Regions from separate parts of the Homo sapiens genome. Here all the other regions are linked to region 3. The links are contacts of gene promoters, found by promoter capture Hi-C in blood cells and fetal thymus (Javierre and others, 2016). All regions are on one chromosome and are shown on one strand. Each heading gives the region's core, a stretch centred on a gene start or on the middle of the fragment in contact. The rest is flanking DNA. Distances are from core to core; before and after follow the strand shown. Region 1 holds the start of STC1 (stanniocalcin 1). Region 2 overlaps ENTPD4-DT (ENTPD4 divergent transcript). Region 3 holds the start of NKX2-6 (NK2 homeobox 6).

The links. The method cuts DNA at HindIII sites, captures the fragments that hold promoters and counts their contacts. A CHiCAGO score of 5 or more calls a contact.
Region 1: the fragment with the promoter of STC1 here is called in contact with the fragment with the promoter of NKX2-6 in region 3 in 2 of 17 cell types (naive CD8 T cells and non-activated CD4 T cells); the score reaches 7.5 in naive CD8 T cells.
Region 2: a contact is called between a fragment that was not itself captured here and the fragment with the promoter of NKX2-6 in region 3, in 4 of 17 cell types (M0 macrophages, neutrophils, monocytes and 1 more). The highest score is 7.6, in M0 macrophages.

Annotation. Positions count from the first base shown.
Region 1 is chr8:23,853,358-23,856,332 of GRCh38, forward strand. It overlaps STC1 (stanniocalcin 1), which reads right to left and starts at 1,449. Exons shown (of 4, transcript NM_003155.3): 1 at 1,049-1,449. The coding sequence starts at 1,166. The HindIII fragment of the contact is 2,191 bases long and covers 1,273-2,975 here.
Region 2 is chr8:23,463,510-23,466,662 of GRCh38, forward strand. The region is part of intron 2 of ENTPD4-DT (ENTPD4 divergent transcript); the gene reads left to right. Among named protein-coding and RNA genes, the nearest start is that of ENTPD4-DT, 7.3 kb to the left of the region's middle. The HindIII fragment of the contact is 5,931 bases long and covers 1-3,153 here.
Region 3 is chr8:23,705,129-23,708,256 of GRCh38, forward strand. NKX2-6 (NK2 homeobox 6) reads right to left here and starts at 1,628. Exons shown (of 2, transcript NM_001136271.3): 1 at 1,197-1,628. The coding sequence starts at 1,470. All of the region lies in intron 3 of LOC107986930 (a long non-coding RNA gene), which reads left to right. RefSeq lists an enhancer at 1-247. The HindIII fragment of the contact is 21,372 bases long and covers 1-3,128 here.

The DNA of each region.
Region 1 (2,975 bases), core at 199-2,698, 150 kb after region 3:
TCCACGGGTTTAAATTATAACTTTGCTTTAAGCAGTTTTAATATGCATTAGGGCTGCTATTGTTTTAGGCAAGCTCGAATTGTGAATCACTGCATCTCTATAGCAACTAAGTACAAAAGGAAGTGAAGCAAAAGCCCTCCTCTCGGCAGGGACCTGTGCTCTTCCAAGGGGATCATCATCTGCAGCATTTTGACACCTGTGATCCGGTCTTTGCTGACAGTTGGAGGACAGAGGGCAGTATTGGAAGGGGAACAAGTGGAGCCAGAGAAGTCAAGAGGCAGAGGTGTCAATGCAGGCTTCCTAATGATTCTTTTCCTTCAGAAGCCAAGATAATGCACAATTAACTGCTCCAAGAGTCAAGACGAAAGTGAGACCTTACCCTTGGAGAAACAGCTGCTACGTTTCACAATTTTTTTTTTCTAGGGGCTCTCTGGCTACGGGCTGCAGGGACGACTGAATGGAGCCCTACAGAGCCAGGAGGGAGACAGGCAGCAGGGTTGGGGGTGGGATGTATAGGGTTTTCTCTGAATCCGCCCTGGATTTGTCAGACTTGAGGGCTATGGTTCTGAAAATCAGTCTGAAGAGGGAGCTTTTCTGTGTATTCTCTTAGGTAGAGAAGTCAAGAAGTGAAGAGGTAGAGTCTTAAGAGGAAAGGAAGAGGGACAGCATCAAACAAGCCAGGTCTTACCTTAGATCAGCTTCTGGAAAGTATAGAGAGCGCTTTGAAGCATGCCAACATTCAAGCCTTTCCTCCCCTCTCACCCCTCCCCCTCCAAGAGGGTACGTGCCAGATTTCAGGCAATCAGGCTAGGCTTATGCAATGAAATACCCTCAGCAGAGCGTCCAGCTTCTTCGTTTAGTTGCATGCAATTTATTAAACAAAGGAGCTCCACTGCCTAAGGCTATTGGATTACACTGGCAGTTTATTGCCATCAGGCATGAAGCACATTTATTATCAAGATCAGCCGTCACAGACACAGTTGCAAAAGGGAGAGGCAAATGAGGACAGCTCTTTGGGGGAGAAACCGCTCTTGGGTTTGCTGCTTACCTGAGTTTTGAGCCGCCACTCGGGATTTCCTGGGGCTCACAGAGTCATTCTGCTCCGCCTCATGGGTTGCAGAAGCACTGATCACCAGCACCAGAAGCACTGCTGAGTTTTGGAGCATTCTCTGAGAAGTTTCCGCTAAGTTGTTGGGTTTTTTTTTTTTCCTGCCCCCCTTTCCTCTTTCCCTCTCCTGGCTTGAGTGAAGATGTGGATCTGGATACACTGAAAGCTTAGGTGAGGATTTGATGAGGATTTTTTTTTGTTGTTGTTGCTGGTGATGCTGCTGCTGCCACCGGTGCCTCCGCTGCTGCTGCTGCTGCCGCCGCTGCTGCTGCTGCTGCCACCGCCGCTGCTGCTGCTGCTGCTGCAGTCGCTGCTTCTTGCACCTCTGGCTTTTGCAAACTGGGGGCCCAAGAGCTGCACCCAGGGATTTTATAGCCGTTCTTATCGGTCCTCAGGATCAAGGACCAATCAGGTCCCTCAACTGGTCTGGTGAGCCAATAAGAGGGCATGCAATTCAGCTGGAGCTTTTTGACTTCTTAGAAATATTTTCCAGCAAATTAAAAGTACCTGCTGCCAATGTTTTATATGTGTGTGTGACTGTGTGTGCAGAGATGTGTGAAAAAGCTATTTTCGTGGAAGTAAGAGATAACTCTGTATTGATTGAACTAAAGAAAAATCCTATAGAAATCTCTCCAAGTTGCTTTTTGAAATCTAGCCATCTTTTTTTCTAATGAGCCACTTGGGGGAAATGGATAGCAGGGGTATGGTGGGGAAATGTGATCTCTTTAGATGAGAACTTAACCTGCTTACAGCAGTTTTACTCTAATTTTAACAGCACATTCTCGGTTCTGTTTTGTAGGCTACAAATGCAATAACTCCCTATCTTCTCTGTGTGTACATGTTCACATGTCTATGATGCATTTTTGTTTGTATGTGGACATCCTGGGTTCTCACTCACACATTTGAGCCCTTGAGGGGGAATTTATGTGAGTGGAAAAGCCTTGGGGGACTGAGATATGACAGCTCAGAGCTGAAGCCTTAGTCCCCCTACTGATCAACCTATGACTCTGGCTAAGTCTTTTTACCTTGCCCCACCTCGTTTTCCCATCTGTAAAACGCCAAAGTTGGACTCTGACATTCTGTATACCTCTAAAATAATGTGATTCTTCAATAATCAAATCAACTTTGACTTCATCTTTTCAGTCACCAGCAAAATTGCATAGTCCAGGAGTGTTAGTTACCCCAGGTACACATGTGCACACCTGCACATACCACACTCAACAGGGAGACATCATGAATGCCTGAAAATTAATAATCTGTGTTCAAGCCCAGCAACTTTATAACCACTTTGAAACAATAAGCTGGCCAAAGCAAGACTAAACCTGCTGAATGGAAACCAGTTCATTTCTTGGGGAGAGGGGTAGGAAAAAAGGGGGCAGAATGGAAAGAAGGGGTAGAGAAAGACCAGAATGTGTAGGAGAGAAGAATGATAAGCTCTAGACTTAATAGGAAAATTGCACTGCAATCACAAATCATGCCTGGTATAGAAACTTATATTTTCTTATAAGTGAGTTGTAGGCAATGCTGAGGTTTGTCCCCAACATGTGAAGGAGGTTAATGAGCCAGAAGAGGACTTCTTAGGGTAGGAAGGTGGTGAAGGTATTATACAATAAAACCTTTAATAATTTTGGGGAAGTAGATGAGAAATGGCCACTGGTGATTCATACAGATTTGGGCAGGATAATCTTGCAGAGAAATGGGGCCAGTGGCTTTACTTTGCATCCTAAAACCTTCAAACAAAAGTTGAAGAAAGAGTGCCACCCCTGTTAACCACAAACTAAACCAAGTGTCAGCTCTGTGTATGTTGTGGGGTGATAGGGTGGTGGGGGGCGGGGGGGGGGGGGCGGCGGACGGTTCTGGGTGATGA
Region 2 (3,153 bases), core at 494-2,993, 240 kb before region 3:
AATGGAGTAGGGCAGATGAACAACCATCAATATCTAAAACCCAATTATGATTTCTCTTTAATTATCTTTCTAGAAAACCCTCTAACATGGCAATTGCTTGAAATTCTGCTCTCCAAATGTTTTAATCCATCATTCCAAGGAAGCTAAATTGGCTCACCTGTCCCTCCTGGCTGTGTGTGGGTGTTTGGGGAAGGTAACCATGCTAGATGTCAGGAAACAAAGGAATCCTGCAGCGCTTGGAAATGGGGAGTTCTCTTACTCTTCCTTGGACCTGTTTGCTTTCCAAGACATTCATGCACAGACTATTTTTGAGTGGCTTGGCTAATAATCCTATATATTTACACAGCCTTTGTCTTCAGGAAATCATGTCACTTTACAGGCATGGTCTCATTTATGAGCCCAGCATTCCTAAGGCAAAGGGATTTTTATTTCATGGTGTTTTGTTGTGGAGAGAAAGAGAAAGTGACTTGTTCAAAGCAACATCAAAATCCAGGGTTTCCTCCAAATTTTTTTAAAAATTATTTATTTATTTATTTTTTGAGACCAAGTTTCACTCTTGTTGTCCAGGCTGGAGTGCAATGGCGCGATCTTGGCTCACCATAACCTCTGCCTTCTGGGTTCAAGCGATTCTCCTGCCTCAGCCTCCCGAGTAGCTGGGATTACAGGCATGCGCCACCACGCTGGGCTAATTGTTATGTATTTTTAGTAGAGACGGGGTTTCTCTATGTTGGTCAGGCTGGTTTCGAACTCCCGACCTCAGGTGATCTGTCCGCCTTGGCCTCCCAAAGTGCTTGGATTACAGGCGTGAGCCACAACGTCTGGCCCTAAATCCTGGGTTTACTCCAAACTTTTCTCATCAAAGCAGAGTGATCAAACTGTACCATAAAGGAGTCACATGGGAGATGGGTAATTGAACACACAAACACATGCACACACACACACACACACAAAACACACACACACGTAGGCAGCAGACATAGTTGCTTTTGCTGCTCGGGCCCCATCACTCTAGTTTTGGTAACAGTACCTCAGATTTCTGAAGGAATATACTCAGGTCATATTTGGTCCATTTGGGTCAGAAATTATGACCCTGGCCTGGTTAAGCAAGGTAATTTTGTCTCCTGATCATGATGACTGGCACGAGTCAATGTTGTTCTGATTAGATAAAAGCTCCATTTTTCAATATCAGCTTCATCTGTGATAAAGATGATACTTTGGTTTGTAAACCCAGAAAATCAGAGACAAGTCTCAGTTAATTTAGAAAGTTTATTTTGCCAAGGTTGAGGATGTGCGCCCATGGCACAGCCTCAGGAAATCCTGACGCCATGTGCCCAAGGTGGCTGGGGCACCGCTTCATTTTATACATTTTAGGGAGACATGAGACATCAATCAATATATGTAAGACATACATTGGTTCCATCCAGAAAGGTGGGGACAACTCAAAGCAAGGAGGGGTCTTCCAGATCACTGGTAGGTGAGAGAAAAGGGGTTGCATTCTTTTGAGTTTCTGATAAGCCTTTCTAAAGGAGGCAATCAGAATATGCCTCTATGTCAGTGAGCAGAGGGATGACTTTGAGTAGAATGGGAGGCAGGTTTGCCCTGAGCAGTTTCCAGCTTGAATTTTCCCTTTGGCTTAGTGATTTTGGGGCCCCAAGATATTTTCCTTTCACAGGTTTTCATATAGTTTTTGTTTCATTTCTAAAATTATTCAGACTTAAGCAGGAAGCAGTGGGTAGTTTATTGGACACCTTAAACCTCTCTCTGTTCCTTTCTCACACCAGATAACATACCATTCTTCCTCTCACCATCCTTCCCTACTGCACCATCACCTTTAAGTTAAGGTTGAAATTCCTGAGCAAATCAACTGCAAATCGATGAGGTGACCAGATGTCATGGACAGGATGGCTTCACACTAGTCTCCTTGGCATGACACCCCAAGGCCATGGTTAAGTTGCTTTCAACTTTTAAGCCTGATGTCCAGACACTTCCCTATATATATTTTCGCTGTGTTCTAACATGTTTAATGGACTATTTGCTTGTTTCCCAATTGTGCCTTCTTTTCTTTTCTTTTCTTTTTTTTTTTTTTTGAGATGGAGTTTCACTCTTGTTGCTCAGGCTGGAGTGCAGTGGTGTGATCTCGGCTCACTGCAACCTCTGCCTCCCGGGTTCAAGCAATTCTTCTGCCTCAGCCTCCCGAGCAGCTGGGACTACAGGCACGTGCCACCATGCCTGGCTAATTTTTGTATTTTTAGTAGAGATGGGGTTTCACTATGTTGGTCAGGCTGGTCTCGAACTCCTGACCTCATGATCCGATCAGTGCAGGGCTTTTCTAAGTGCCAGCCATCTGTGACTGACTGCACAGGTCCCACGCCCTAGAAGCAGCTCTGTAGCTACCCCAGGAAAATGTAGCCCTATGGCCTTGACTGTAGAAGCCTCTGCTGTTGCCCAAGGCTGTGGGCTGGCCTGAGCAGCTGGGAGGATGAGTGGGGAGTGTGGGGCTTCAGGACAGAGCTTGAGCCTTGATACTTGCCTGACTTTCAGTCTTACAGAAACCACAGTATTACAGACTTTTCCATGTTGTTGTTACAAAGATATATAGATTTAATATATAGATTTAAAAATAAATGCAAAAAAGTAAAAATTAGAGGGGCTATAACATTTGATTTACTAGTTTATCTGAATTTATCATTTTAAACATCTTAAAACATGGGTGTGTCCTCTTAGCCCTGACCCTCCAAATGTTTGTGGCAATCCCAGAGTGGAGAACGCAGAAGGAATGAATAAACCTCCTGGAAGAGGTGGCATGAGATGTGACTGAAGACACAAAGAGAACGATAAATGTGAAGAGGAGGAAGGATTCCTCTTTTGTTAAAAAAAATTGTGGTAAAATACACATAACATAAAATTTACCATCTTAAATTTATTTATTTATTTATTTATTTATTTAGAGACAGAGTCTCTGTCACCCAGGCTGGAGTACAGTGGTACAATAGTAGCTCACTGTAACCTCAAACTCCTGGGCTCAAATGATCCTCATGCTCCAACCTCCCAAAGTGCTGGGATTACAGGCGTGAGCCACCGCACCCTGCCCATCTTGATCATTTTTAAGTGTACACTTCAGTAATGTTATGTGTATACATATTATTGTGCCAC
Region 3 (3,128 bases), core at 378-2,877:
GTGGTGGTCGAAGGAACGTGATCCTTTGTCAGCTCAGCGGAGCCGAAGTGATCGCCGAGTTGGCTGAGCAGCGCCGAGGGAGTTTAGAATCCGCTGCAGAAAACCTACCAGCTTCTTCGCGGACACAGCAGGTAATGTTCTTAGGCTTCTGGAGTTAGTGAGTAGCCGGCCTGCAGGCCGGTAAATAACTCCGATCTAGCCCCTTGGTTTATTTCTTTCGTTCGCGCCTTGAATGGAGGCGCCATGGCACAGTCTGGCAGAGGAGGCCTGCCCTGGCGGGCGCTACTCAGGGCCCCTGCGTTGAGAATGCCGAGTGAGGTGCTGAGGTTTGGAGAGAAAAAGGTGGCGTTTTCATCCCTTGGAATATCGGGCCTCTCCAGCTGAAGCCTCCGGATCGACACAACACAACTCCCGGATCGACGCAACACAACTCCCCGCCAGCCCCTTCCCTTCCAGCGGGCTGGACACAGGTGCGTGGGCCTCGCAGCCCGGCGCGCACGGTTGCGCCTTTGGATACCTGCGACAGGACTCGGCCAGAACCGTGTCCCAGGGCAGAGAAAACCCTGGCAACCTTTAACGTTCTCCCTGACGCGGAGAATCCTGCGCCAACGGGGCCTTCCACTTCGGGAGACTCAATCGCCACCCGGTCCCCAACTTTCGTCTTCCAGAAGAAAAATCCATGAGGAGGAATGGGGGGGTCCCCCGACCAGACCAGCAAGAAAGGGCCCAGTTAGGAGTGACCTCAGCGCCACGAGGGTTCCACTGCTTTGATGGCCACACGCTTTTGCAAACGGTTTGGGGGTGGAGAGACACCAGGTGATGGTAGGGAAGGGCGGTGGTGACTGGCACGGCTAAGACACTGCGGAGGGTTTCGCTGTGGAGATGAGAAGGTGGAGGTTCTGGGCACTGTGGCTGCGAGTGTGAGCGATGCGTTTGTGGGAATCAGAGGAGCGGATTTGGGAAAAGTGAATCCTTGAGATTCAGGGCCTTACTTTCGTTAGGGGTGTGTGAAGCACACTGGGTGTCAGGAGAGGATGGGAATGGGATTCGAGAGGCCTTTTTTTGGACTCCTCGAGAGAAAATGGAGAGAGTCTCGAACCCAGGAGATAGGAGGCGTATTTTCCCCATGCACCCATGGATCACGCCCCCGCCCCCACATTCCCCCCGTAGGAGGCAAGACCTGAGCGCTTACTCACGTGGCTCCCCCATCCGTTCCGCGTCCATCTCCAAGACTGCCTCACAGGGACCCCCAGGAGGCTCCGAACCATCCAGCTTTCTGTCACCGCCGCCGCCACCAGCGTTGTGAACCTCTGACCCTCGCGGCTCTGCGTCCATTCTCAGGTACTGAAAGTTTTCCGGGCTCTTCCGCACCCGCGGATGTGGCGAAGCCGCGGGGCAGCTCCGCTCGCGCTCCAGTCGCAGGATGTCCTTGACCGAGAAGGGGGTGGAGGTGACGGGGCTCAGCAGCATCCCGAAGGCGGATGGGGCGGGGCCGAGGAGGTCCGGGTGAGGAGCGGCACCCTGAACTTCCCGTCTTGTCGCTGCAGGCCCCGCAGACAGACCCAAGCTCTGGGACAGACGCCCAGCGTCCCAGACAGCGCCTTCCTCTGGGCCATGCTGGTAGGCCCGGGTCCAGGGCCGGGTGACGAGACCGTAGCCCCCCATTGGTTCTCGCAGAAACCACGTGCTAGCTCTGCACCTTCCTCCCCCAGCGCTTTCTTCCCGCGCCCGTCGAATCCTCTCCAGTCCCCAGTCGCCTTCCTGGGAGGTTTGGTTCGTATTGACGGTTCTCAAAGCAAAGAAAACGTGGAGAGACAGTGCTGCGCGCGGCTTGGATCTCCGTCAATACGGTACTAGCGGGAGCTTCCGAGGTCAACCTAGGGTCCACGGGGACCCTCCTAGTGGACATGCGGGGATTGGAGGTGGAGTCCTTGCTGTGCAACCCGATCCGGTCCATCCAGCCTGGTCTTAGCTCAACTCTGCATTCTTATGGCGGAGGAAAGCTAAGATAGAGACAGCTGGGACCCGCGGAATTTGAGGCGCGCGCTGGGATCTTACGTGCGCAGAGGCCGGACCGCAGAGTAGAAGTGAGTCTTGACCCACCAGGGCCTATATTGAGATGGAAACCTCTCTCTTTGAACAGAATCCAGGTCTGCGGAGTCCCGACCCGCCACTTCCTAGGAGCAGCTTCTCAGCCCCAGGACCGAGGAATGGGTGTGGGGGCTACATGTGGGGAGCCCTCGACCTCTTAAAGGGCTCCGCGAATGGTGGGGGAGACTGGAAGGCAATCTCTGCGGCCCGCGCAAAGTGGTCAGAGGCGGGAGTGGGGGTGGGGGGGGGTGGGCTTCCGTCGCCCTTGGCGTCCCCACGTTCTTTTTCTTCCTCTCCTTTATCCTCCTTAAAGCGGATTGCCTGGAGCGTGCCAGCTTGTGTGCGCGTATAAATGCGGCGCCCGCCGAAGGGCTGGGAAGATTTGACTCGCATTAGATCTCCAGAAAAGGCCCTTGGTTACGGCGGGCACCGAGTAAATGGCGCAGTGTGGCACAAAGGTTACCAACACGGAGATAGCGCCAACAGATCCAGCCCCTGCTGTTACTACTCCTGGATCAGGGAAACGTGATTTGGTGTCAGCTGTTCCAGCACTGAATCGAAGAGGGTTTAAAAATTGTGTTTTAATCACAATGGGATCTCATTAGAGTTCTTTTGGGGATTTCAGATCAAATGTTTCTTTTTGTTTTTCTTTCCTTCCTTTCCCTCCCTCCCTCCCTCCTTTTTCTTTCTTTCTTTTCTTTCTTTCTCTTTCTTCCTTTTTTTTTTTTTTTTTGGTTACAGGGTCTCTCTCTGTCTCCCAGGCTGGAATGCAGTGGCCGGATCATGGCTCGCTGCAGCCTCGACCCGGACTCAGTGATCCTCCCACCTCAGCCTCCTGAGTAGCTGGGACCACAGATGCAGCCACTAAGCCTGGCTATTTATTTATTTATTTATTGCTTGTAGAGCCGGGGTTTCGCCATGTTGCTTAGGCTGGTCTTGAACTCCTGGGCTCAAGTAATGTGCCCACCTCGGCCTCCCAAAGTGCTGGGATTACAGGTGTGAGCCACCGCGCAGGCTTCAAATGCTTCTTAAACCTA